3 separate regions of the Homo sapiens genome follow, and all the other regions are linked to region 1. The links are contacts of gene promoters, found by promoter capture Hi-C in blood cells and fetal thymus (Javierre and others, 2016). All regions are on one chromosome and are shown on one strand. Each heading gives the region's core, a stretch centred on a gene start or on the middle of the fragment in contact. The rest is flanking DNA. Distances are from core to core; before and after follow the strand shown.

Region 1 (3,846 bases), core at 1-2,500:
CGCACCCAAAGCCACCCTCCCCGATCTTGAGCTCCTCCGAGAAGTTGTGGGTGCCCCGGGAAATCTCACAGAGGGGCCAGCAAAACGGAAAGGGGCGGGCTCCCTGCAGGAGGGACACTGAGCTCTCTGGGCCTGGCTGTGGGAAGAGAGCCTGGATCAGGTGGGGTCCCTGTCTCTTCCCTTCTGCCCAAGGCTCCAGGCTCTCCCCACCACAGCTGCCTCCCAGCTGACCCAGCTTGGCTGACTGGGGCTCTGCGCTACATCAAAGGCTGAATTCCTTCCTCCTTGTCTCGAATCTTCCCTGGGGGGCAGGGGACACCTACCTTGGTAGAAGAAGGGGCTGGAGATGGCGGTGGAGGCCACAGGGAAGCAGGGCTTGGGACCAGGCCGAGCTCAGGCCCTGAATGGGTCTGGGAGCCTGGAAAAGCTTCATAAAGACACCAGTGAGAGGCAGGCAGAGACCAGCAGCAGGGTCTACAGCCGTGGCCGTGGTCAAGGTGGGCTCTTCTTTGGGTCCACCGAGCCTAACAACCGGGCCCTCTTACCTGGGGAGAGGAAGGTGGAGGCTGAGGATGGCAACTTCCGGGGGCTCCAGGCCTCGGCCTCGGCGGGTGCAGGGATGCTGCTGGGCCTCGGGGCAGTGGTGCCTGGGGACGGAAGCGGGGCGGGAGGGTGCCCTGGGACGCCAAGGAAGGAAAGGAAGGTTGAGGCCCGGGTGGGGGAGCCCCGTGGGGCCCGCCGGCCTCCCAGCCGTGGGGTGCCCGGAGTCCCGCGCTCACAGGCTGTGATGATGTCCCGCGCACGGAGCAGCTGCAGGTGCGTGAGGATGTGCACGAGGTCGGCCACACGGGCGTTGCGGTTGATCCAGGGCCACAGGACGCTGGCCGTGCGCTGCCCGGAGCGCTCGCACAGCCGCAGCTCGGTCTGGTCGCGCACGATCAGGGCGGCTGCGGGGCGGGGGGCGTCAGGCGTCGGCGCCAGGAGCCCGCGCGCCTCCCGCCCCCCGGCAGCCCGCCGCCACCCACCGAACTGGCACCAGTCGGCGGGCTCCAGGGCGTCCATCACTTTGTAGAAGCGGCACATGACCCAGGGCGGCACCTCGTACAAGAAGTGCTGGGCGCCGGGGGCTGCGGGCTCCCCCGGGCCCGGCCCCCCGGCCATGGCTGCCGCCGCCGGGCCGGGACCTGCCGGGGCCTCTCAGGGCCGCGGCGGGCGCGGGCCTGGGCCGGCCGGGTCCGCGGACACTGACTCACTTCCCCTTCGAGCCGGCCTCGTGCGACGCCCGGCGGGGCGGAAGGGGCGGTGCCCGGGCCCGCCGCCATCTTGCGCGCCGCGGCCGCGCGCTGGGTCACACGGGGGCGCCCCGCGCCGGGGAGGGCCCGGGTCCCGGCGGGTTCCGCGAGCGGCGATCGGCCTCCCGGGCTCGCCCGGGCGGGGCTCTGGAGGACGAACGGCGGCTCCCGGCGTTGGGGACAGAGGGCAGGGCGGAGGCCCGGGCTGCTCGGAAAGGGGCCGGGGCCGGGCCTTCCGAAAGCTCCTGGGCGGCCCTGCCGGAACCCTGCTCTCCACTGCGGCCTGCAGGGCTGTTACCAGGAGCCCTGCCTGCCCGCCCCACGTCTAGCCCCCTGCACACGGCAGCAGCCTTGAGCCATTCAGTCTCCTTAGGTGTCCTGAAATATGCCGAGAACGCTGCCCGCCACAGCCGTGAGTGTATGCGTTGCTGCTGCCCCAGCCCTCATTTGGCAAGGGTGAGCTCAGGCAGCTGTGGTGAAGGCTTCCTGAGCCCGCCGGCAGAGCTCCTGCCACCCCGTACCTGTCCCCTCCTGGGCATCGTCCTTGATTACTTGTCTGGACCGCCACCCCCGGTCCCCGCCCTGAGATGGGGAAGACCCCACAAGCAGCAACGCAGACTTACTCTTTTGTTTCTCCAGCTGGATGTCTCCTCCAGCGACAGTTCCCCTTGCCCTCTTGATCCTGACAGCGAAGGGGTTCCCCACCCCTAGCCCTACAGACTTAGGACTTTTCCTAGAAACGAGAAGTGCCCAAGGCCCACAGCTGGCCCCTGTTGGAGTCTCTTTCCTGAAGCCACCACCACTGTGGCCACTCCCAAGGAAGATGCCAACCATACCATGAAACCCATGGCTTCTCACGGGACAGACTTTACTGAGATGTACCAACTCAAGTATCTGAAATGACTGCACACCCATGCTAACCTCCACGGGGGCACTTGGTCCTACTTACACACAAAGGCCCATCAGCTCACGGAACAGGGCTGGCATACGAGATGCTCAATGCATACAAGTTGACTTTTCAACCCTGGGATCTACCTTTGAAGGCCAGGCCTTCCGAGGGTACCTTCTAGCATGTGCATGTGAAGCTGGACTCCTTTGAGCAGTTGTCTCCTCCAGCCCCTTACCAACCTGGTGAGGCTGCTCCTGAGAGCCAAGGAAGCCAGTAACAAGGGGGCCCCCTTTGGGCAAACCCCTCAGCCTGCCCTTGCCTGGTCAGAGAACCACGTTAGCAGTCAACAGAGGGCACGTGAGGGTCCTGGCCAGAATGAGACACAGGAGGAGCCACAGCCTGCGGGGGTGGGGGTGTCCAAAAGCACCACAGCACATCCAGACCTAGGGGGTGCCCCTACCATACGGGTCTGGAGCAGGGAGGTTGTGCTGCAGGCTGACTCATGCCAGGCCCTTCCCGTCACACGCTGGAGCAGTGTGCCTGGAGAGCACTGGCTTGGAAGAAGCTGAGGGGCCAGCGAGGCCAGCATATGGAGGAGGCTTCCCTTGGCCGCTCGTGGCAGGCCTGAAGGCAGCTACCTGTGTCCAGGGACAGCCAGATCCAATGAGGAAACGCAGCACCATGCTGTCATGTGAGCTGGAGGGGGACTTCTGTCTTATAATGAAAGCCCAGACCTTGAGTCACTTTCACAGAGAGATTTATCGAGAATGCTAACAGCACAGGATACAGTACTTCCCAACAAAAGGTGCAAACGCGTCACTTAGAAAGGCATGCTGAGTATTCTTTGCTTTCACATGTATTAAAAAACTTACAAAAATAAAATAAAACTGCGTGCTGCCCATCTTTTCCAATAGTAAAAGAACCTTATGAAAAAATCACTTGATTTTTACAACAAAAGACACAAACGGACATTTTTATGTAAATTTATAAGGCAAACTCTTTATATAATAAATAGGTTACAGGGATTCAGTGGGGGGGGGGTGTTTTTGAAACGTATACAGGTACATTCAGACAGGTTTACTGAAATGGTACAAATTTCCTTAATAAATTGCCTTTTGTTTTTAAATATATCAGTGCTTTCAGTCATTTGGCTATACACAAAGAACCTTTTTTCTGAACACTACAAAAAAGCAATCAATAATTTTTGTTTTTAAAACGACCTACTTATTTTCTAAAGTAATTGTCCCAAAACACAAAAACTGAAGGTGAATACGATACAGGGCTTTTAGAGACATCTCCAGCTAAGTGTGTCCCGGCCTCTCCCTGTGCCCCAAGTGCACCTCTCCCAACCTCAGACAGGTTTCCAGGCTGGAGCCAGCTCCCTTCTGCACAGGGTGGCCTGTGTTACTGGCAATGCTGTCCATAGCTCTCGGCCTCTGGGCTGGCACAGGGGAGCATGACTTCAACTCAGGAGGGGGCAGACACCCTGCCTAGCTCTTCCAGATGCTGCACCCGGCATGCAATGGTCACTACAGTCAGCACTCTCCGCCTCTCAGAGGAGGGAGGGGCTGTCAGGTGTTTTGGGAGCCCAAAACCATGCCTAATGAGGGTAATGGCTTTTCTAAGGAGATGTTTTCGCCATGGAATGGGAAGGGGTTTTCTCAC
Region 2 (3,846 bases), core at 994-3,493, 120 kb after region 1:
CTAATCATCCGTTGATGTTTGTTGATTTGTTTGTTTGTTTTGAGACAGTCTTGCCATCAGAGCTCACTGCAGGCTCAACCTCCCAGGCTCAAGAAATCCTCCCGCCTCTCTACCTCCCAAGTAGCTGTGACTACAGGCACCTGCGACTGTGCCCTGCTAATTTTTGTATTTTTTGTAGAGACAGGGTCTCACTATGTTGCCCAGGCTAGTCTCGAACTCCTGGGCTCAAGTGATCCTCTCACCTCGGCCTCCCAAAGAACTGGGATTACAGGCATGAGCTACCATGTCCAGCCCAATTGCCCATTGATGGGCACGGGTTGCTTCCATGTTTCAGCTGTTGTGAATCACGCTGCTGTGAACATGCGTGTGCAAACAGCCCTTCCAGACCCTGCCTTCCATTCCTCTGGGCCTATACCCAGCAGTGCGGTTGCTGGGTCCTATGGGAATTCTACGTTTAACTTTTGGAGGAGCTGCCAAACTGTTTTCCACAGTGGCTGCGCCATCACAATCCAATTTTAGGACATTTTTATCACCCATAAAGCACTCCCTGTACCCATTAAGAAGTCATCCTCCATTTCCCTCCCTCCCCTGTCCTGGCACCCATTCCTCTGCTTTGTGTGTCTCTGGATTGCCCTATCTAAGCATTTCACAGAGATGGAGCCATGCGCTCCGTGGTCTTTTGTGTCTGGCTTCGCTCACTGAGCATGCTGTTCTCCAGGTCCATCCACGTTGTAGCGTAGGTCAGCCCTTCATTCCCTGTTATGGCCAAATGATACTCCATTGTACAGACAGGCCACTTTTTACCCACTCATCTGCTTCTGGACTTTTGGGTTGCTTCTACCATGTGGCCTGTTGGGAACAGTGCTCTGTTTGTATTCATGTACGGGTTTTTGTGTGGACACACATTTTCAAGTCTCTTGGGTACACAGGTGTAGAAGTGCCAGAGTTGGGGAAAAAGCTCACCTTTCTAGGCTGTGAATGGGCCCTGGCAAGTCTGTGGCCAGGACTCGTCTTCTCTTCCACATGGGGCCCCTAGCTTGGCACCTAGCACGTGGCAGGCAGCGACAGATGTTAAAAGCCATTCTTGCTATGGGTAGCCAGGCTGGGGCTCCATGCAGCCCTGGCCTTCAGCTTGGCAGCCAGGGCCCCCTTGTGCCTGCAGCAGAAGCCATGCTGCCAGGAGTGTAAGTGTGAGCCAGGAATGCTGGAGAATCGTGGCTCTGAGAACAGGGACAAGAGGCCACAAGCTCACGCCTTGGCTTTCCTAAGCTTAAGGAATAAACCCAAAAGGAGGTACCTGGAAGGAGCTGGATTTGGGGACTGAGGAGCTGGGAGCTGATGGAAGCCGTGAAAGGGGATGTGCTCCTGGGGAGGCGCTGGGGCGGGTGGGCCGTGGAGGGGACAGGGCCCGTTGGTTGGAAACTGAGGCGAGGCTACGGAGTTGGGCACTAACAGGTCATCCGTGCCCCTGCGAAGCGTGGGGACACAGGGACAGCAGAGATGGCCTGTCTGGACACTCTGTCGACGGGGGGCCTGTGGTTGGTGAAGCCCAAGGCAAGGCTGTGAACTCAGGGCAAGGGAGACGTGAGCAGGCGCTGCCGTGGGCTGATGTGGGCACTGCATGTGCACCCTGGCGGCCAAAGGACCTACAGCTCATGGGGGGCAAGGGGGAGGAGGGAAGCCAACAGCAGGATGTGCGCAGTCAGTCTGCCCCCCCTACACTGGAGGAGGAGCCCCCCGGCACAAATCTCGCCCGTTTGGGCCCACGGACATGGCTGGCCTCGCAAGGAGGATCCGGTTCCAGGCCTCGGCCCTAAATAGTCTCCCTGGGCTTTCAAGAGAACCACATGAGAAAGGAGGATTCGGGCTCTGAGCAGTTTCACCACCCACCCCCCAGTCTGCAAATCCTGACCCGTGGGTCCACCTGCCCCAAAGGCGGACGCAGGACAGTAGAAGGGAACAGAGAACACATAAACACAGAGAGGGCCACAGCGGCTCCCACAGTCACCGCCACCTTCCTGGCGGGGATGGGTGGGGCGTCTGAGTTTGGTTCCCAGCAAATCCCTCTGAGCCGCCCTTGCGGGCTCGCCTCAGGAGCAGGGGAGCAAGAGGTGGGAGGAGGAGGTCTAAGTCCCAGGCCCAATTAAGAGATCAGGTAGTGTAGGGTTTGGGAGCTTTTAAGGTGAAGAGGCCCGGGCTGATCCCACAGGCCAGTATAAAGCGCCGTGACCCTCAGGTGATGCGCCAGGGCCGGCTGCCGTCGGGGACAGGGCTTTCCATAGCCATGGCCCAGCAGTGGAGCCTCCAAAGGCTCGCAGGCCGCCATCCGCAGGACAGCTATGAGGACAGCACCCAGTCCAGCATCTTCACCTACACCAACAGCAACTCCACCAGAGGTGAGCCAGCAGGCCCGTGGAGGCTGGGTGGCTGCACTGGGGGCCACCGGCCACCCACCTGCCCCGCCCAAGGGAATCTCTCTTCTGCACGTCCCCACCAGCAGAGAAGGCTTTCTCCCATAGCTTTTCTGATGACATGAATTGGGGGGTCCTCTCCAAATCTAGAAGGACACCATAATATCGAATATGCATTCTCAAGCCACACAGGCTTCCCAGCCCCTTTGAGAATCCGAGGCCGGGGAAGAGTTTATGTGCTCTTTCTTTGTGGCCCGTAGATGAGTGTGTTCACTGCTAGCGAATGACCTCTCATTCCACGGAGTCCCTCAGCTTCCTGGGGAAGAGCTGGGTCTGTCTTTACATTTGAAGCCGAAAGGAGGCAACATACTGACACACCCAAGGGAGGCGGGAGGGTGGGGAAGACAGCAGCAGAGGGCAAGAAACTTCTAGAACTTCAGGGTCGGCAAAGCCTGTAGCAGTCATTTTGTCAAACTCCATGATGGGGCCACTTGGCTTTTGGCTGCACACCTCTGGGGGAAGAGGCTGCATTGGCGCCCAGGGCCATCTTTCCATTCGGAGCCGTCCTGGGAGAGAGGGCTCAGGCCCAACAGAAAGCTGAAAGCTCTCATCAGGGCAGCCCGAGTCCTGCCATTGGGAGTTGCCCAATCCGAAAGTTTTGCACGCAGGCCCTCAAAGAAGCTGAGGACACCAGTGACCGCCCCACTCCTGGCCCTCTCCCCAGGTCCCTCCTCCAAACCAAATTCCTTTGGTGCCTTCAAGAACATCGTGCAGGCCGGGCACAGTGGCTCACGCCTGTAATCCCAGCACTTTGGGAGGCAGAGGCGGGCAGATGACGAGGTCAACAGATAGAGATCATCCTGGCCAACATACTGAAACCTCATGTCTACTAAAAATGCAAAAATTAGCTGGGCTTGGTGGCGCATGCCTGTAGTCCCAGCTACTCAGGAGGCTGAGGCAGGAGAATCGCTTGAACCCGGGAGGTGGAGGTTGCAGTGAGCCGAGATCACGCCACTATGCTCCAGCCTGGCCACAGAGTGAGACTCTTGTCTCAAAACAAAACAAAACAAAAAACAACAACATCGTGCAGGCTGTGGTTTCCAGAAGCCACGCCAGCTCCTTGATTGCCAATAAACATCCCGCTGTGGGGTGGCCAGGACCGAGTGCCAATTAGTGACAGAGTGCCCAGACCAAACCGGATGAGGATCTTGCAGTTGACCTCAACATGACTGTGCCCAGAATTTCCTTGGTGGCAATGTCAACAGTCTCTTCCTAGATGCCCCCAGACTTCATCAATGCATGATGCTTCAGTGCACTCTTTTCAAATGTCGGGGTGGGTTTTTTTTTTTTCCACAAAACTTCAAGCATCTACTAAAGTAGAGGGAGGAGTGTAATGAACTCCGGTACCCATCACTCAGCTTCCACGGTTTCATCT
Region 3 (3,846 bases), core at 479-2,978, 100 kb after region 1:
GCACTGAATAGCAGCTCATCCTCCATCCACACTTTCTGTAGTGCTGTGCACAGTAGGGAGCAGCCCCTCTGCCTGCCAGTCCTTACCTGGGGGTTCCTGAGCTGACCAACTCTGTAGGGACACCGTGAAACTCTGTAGCCATCAAAGACCCTCAGTCCGGGCACAGTCACAGGGGAGGGACTCATGTCCTCAGGGGAGGCCTCCTTGACACTCTCCAGCATGCTGGAGGGTTTGATGAGATTCTTCTGCTGGGTGGCTGGGCGTGGTGGCTCATGCCTGTAAACCCCAACCCTTTGGGAGGCTGAAGTGGGAGGATCACTTAAACCCAGGAGTTTGAGGCTGGAGTCAGCTATAATCATGCCACTACACTCCAGCCTGCGTGACGGAGCAAGACCTTGTCCCTAAATTTTTTTTTAAATTAAAAAAAAAAAGACGATCCTGCTGGGTGATGGTGGCTTTTTTTCTGTACAGCTAGAACTAGAGTAAAGGGGAGGAGTTTCCCCCAAAGGATACTTTTGCCCATTTGCAAAGGAAATGAATGAATGAAGATGCTGAGGCTCTCCCAGCTGATGGAACCACTATTCTGATTGATTGGCTTCAAAGACTCACCAGAGAAAAACATTTTAAAATGTAGGGCCAAACCTCTGATACTATAAAAGTGCTGGCCTTTTAAGACAAACTCTCAAAGTTAGAGTTTCCCCACGGTGAGAATCTCTCCACACAGTTGGGGACTGGGCAGCTACCCCAGCTGGGCACTAGAGGCCTGGGCCACCCTCACACCCTGGTCAGTGGTAGCACGGGGGCTGCCAGACCTCATCAAAAGCTTGACTTTTCTTTGACTTCCAGGAGGAGGAACCCTGTGAGGCACTGCTCCACTCCCTGCATGGTTGAGGACAGGTGGGAGAGGGGAGGCTACAATCAGGCTTCAAGGTTATTAGGATGGGCCGGGCGCGGTGGCTCACGCCTGTTATCCCAGCACTTTGGGAGGCCAAGGTGCGCGGATCACTTGAGGTCGGGAGTTCGAGACCAGCCCGGCCAACATGGTGAAACTGCTTCTCTACTAAAAATACAAACATTAGCCGGGCGTGGTGGTGAGCACCTGTAATCCCAGCTACTCGGGAGGCTGAGGAGGCTGAGGCAAGACAATCGCTTGAACCTGGGAGGCGGAGCTTGCAGTGAGCTGAGATCATGCCACTGCACTCCAACCTGGGCAACAGAGAGAGACTCCGTCTCCAAAAAAAAAAAAAGAAAAAGAAAAAAGGAGAAACGGTTATTAGGATGGTCCTGGGATGGAGAGAACCAGGGACAGTAAGGGCCTGGCCAGGGTAGGGCAGCTGCTGCAGGAACAGCAACCCAGCAACTGGCCACACAGAGGGCGAGTGACCCCTGGGCGGACTGATGGGCCACACCACAGGCCACACCACGGACCACAGGCCACACCCAGAGAGCTAGTCCTGGGGCAGGGAGCGCCTCTGAGCAGGAAATGACAGAGGAAGTTTCTGGTGCAGCTTTACTGATAAGGAAACAAACAAAGACTGTGTGATAGCAATCAGAAAACATTTCAGTCAAGCAGAGTGGAAGGAAGACTGCTTTATCTTTCTGTTCCCTCTAGTGAGAATTATGTCACAATATCATTGTCAGATGAAGATGCGATCTAACACTATGCAGCCAAAATGTGGGGAAAAAAGATAACACAGGTAGCTTCAGTACAAAATATAATAGGAACAAAAACATTGTACTTTGCTGCCTTTTGTTGTATTTGTCAGCTTTTTAAAATTTGTAATTTGTTGTGATTTCTTATCTTTTTCTAAATGAATGGACACATTTGCAAGTGATTTAGTATTCTTAAAGAGGAACCCTAAATTATATAAATTTTGGTCTCTATACAATGTGGGTTTTCCTTCCTATATACATGGTAACCTGTTTAGAAATTTTAATTAAATTAAATAAGTTGAAGTTGTGGGGAACAAATCATCATGTTATCTCTTTTCTGTGCACAAAAGTCGTTTTTAAATACTGGAATGGGGCGGGGTGTGGTGCCTCATGCCTGTAACCCCAGCACTTTGGGAAGCTGAGGCAGGTGGATCATCTGAGGTTGGGAGTTTGAGACTAGCCTGGCCAACATGGCAAAACTGGGTCTCTACCAAAGATACAAAAATTATCCGGGCATGGTGGGGTGCACCTGTAGTCCCAGCTACTCAGGAGGCTGAGGCAAGAGAATCGCTTGAACCCGGGAGGCGGAGGTTGCAGTGAGCCGAGATTGCACCAGTGCACCCAAGCCTGGGCAACAGAGAAAGACTCTGTCTCAAAATAAATAAATAAATAAATAAATATTGCAATGGGAAAAGAGAAAAATAAATCATAGAATTTTGGGATATTACACTTTAACAAGTTAAATCAAAACATTTATAAATAGCCATATAAAACCAACCATATAAAACCAGGCTATTAGTAAAAATCTAAATGGTCGTCCTGCTTCCTAAATGTACTCTTTCTCTCAAAAAGTTTTTGGATGAGAGAACATGGAAAACTGGGGATTTTTCCTCCACTGTTACAATGTCCTGCTTGCTCAGTCACAGGATAAGAAACAAGGAAACGCATATTGCTATCAGGCCCAAATTGAACAGTCATGAAGAAGCTTCAGGAATCTCTACTGTGTTAAATACACTTACTAATATTGAAAGGGCTTTATCAACACAGAAGATAGAGAGAGAGGCAGAACAGCATGGCCAAATAGAAGCCTCCAGTGATCATCCCCACTGCGGGAACACCAAATTGAACAACTAGCCACACAAAAAAGCACTTTCCTAATATCCAAAAATCAGGTGAGCGATCACAGGACCTGGTTGAACTTCACATCACTGAAAGAGGCCGTGACAAGGGTAGGAAGGACAGTCTTGAATCACTCCCCGCCCCGCGCCCCAGCCTCAGCCCCGGCACCCCCCACCCCCAGCCCCCGCTCCGCAGCAGCCTCGTGGTGCAGAGAGAGAAGCTGTACACTTGGGGGAGGGAGGGCACGGTGACTGTGGGGCTTTGCGTCGGAACTCAGCGCTGCTGCCGTGTCCCAGCAGAAAGCAACACGGGGCAGAAGTTAGCGGGCGCCCACGAAGGGAGGATTTACATCAGCCCTAGCCGGAGAGGAATCGCCCATCTTCAGCGGATGGAGCCTGAGCTCCAGCAAAGCCTCACCACTGCGGCCTAAAGTATTCAGGGGCCTGAAATATACTTGAAAGGCAGTCTAGGCAACAAGGACGGCAAGTCCCGGGCAAGTCCTGCTGCTGGACTGGGCTCGGAGCCAGCGGACTTGGGGTACAAGCGACTTAGTGAGATAGCAGCCGGGGTAGCTCGGGCCATGCTTACACCTCCCCTCCCCCAAGGCCAGGCAGTGCCGCTCACAGCTCCAGGAGCCCCTCCTTCCTCTTGCTTGAGGAGAGGACACGGAAAAGTGGGGAGGACATTGTCTTGTGTCTTGGATACCAGCTCAACCACAGTAAGATGGGGCACTGGTCAGAGTCGTGAGGCCCCCATTCCAGGCCCTAGCTCCCAGACGACATTTCTAGACACCCTCGGCCGGAAGGGAAGAGAAGGACCCAGTCCTAGCGGGACTCATCACCTGCTGACTGAAGGGCTCTTGGGCACTGAGGAACCAGCAGCCATACCCAGGCCGTACTTGCTGCAGGCCTCGGCTGACACTCAGAGCCGTGCGGGCCCAGCACACTCCCAGCTGCGGTGGCCACAGGCAGAGACCCCTTCGGTTTGAGGAAAAGGGAGGGAAGAGTAAAGGGGACTTTGTCTCGCAGCTTGGGTACCAGCTCGACCACAGCGGAGTAGTGCACCAAGTGGGCT

The links. Contacts are between HindIII fragments. The CHiCAGO score rates a contact against its expected background, and 5 or more counts as called.
Region 2: a contact is called between the fragment with the promoter of OPN1LW here and the fragment with the promoter of IRAK1 in region 1, in 2 of 17 cell types (total B cells and monocytes). The highest score is 6.3, in total B cells.
Region 3: a fragment that was not itself captured here is called in contact with the fragment with the promoter of IRAK1 in region 1 in 2 of 17 cell types (monocytes and M1 macrophages); the score reaches 6.1 in monocytes.

What each region holds. Positions count from the first base shown.
Region 1 is chrX:154,018,652-154,022,497 of GRCh38, forward strand. IRAK1 (interleukin 1 receptor associated kinase 1) reads right to left here and starts at 1,251. Exons shown (of 14, transcript NM_001569.4): 1 at 1,026-1,251; 2 at 780-947; 3 at 546-677; 4 at 324-427; 5 at 1-136. The coding sequence starts at 1,161. MIR718 (microRNA 718) reads right to left here and starts at 1,338; the gene lies at 1,269-1,338. MECP2 (methyl-CpG binding protein 2) reads right to left here. Exons shown (of 3, transcript NM_001110792.2): 3 at 2,922-3,846. RefSeq lists silencers at 621-690, 701-800, 1,151-1,530 and enhancers at 1,216-2,185, 2,301-2,370. The HindIII fragment of the contact is 4,941 bases long and covers 426-3,846 here.
Region 2 is chrX:154,142,000-154,145,845 of GRCh38, forward strand. OPN1LW (opsin 1, long wave sensitive) reads left to right here and starts at 2,244. Exons shown (of 6, transcript NM_020061.6): 1 at 2,244-2,396. The coding sequence starts at 2,285. RefSeq lists a promoter at 2,054-2,287 and cis regulatory regions at 2,054-2,114, 2,114-2,131, 2,131-2,148, 2,148-2,221. The HindIII fragment of the contact is 9,614 bases long and covers 1,268-3,846 here.
Region 3 is chrX:154,122,526-154,126,371 of GRCh38, forward strand. No RefSeq gene overlaps it. Among named protein-coding and RNA genes, the nearest start is that of OPN1LW, 20 kb to the right of the region's middle. The HindIII fragment of the contact is 1,815 bases long and covers 822-2,636 here.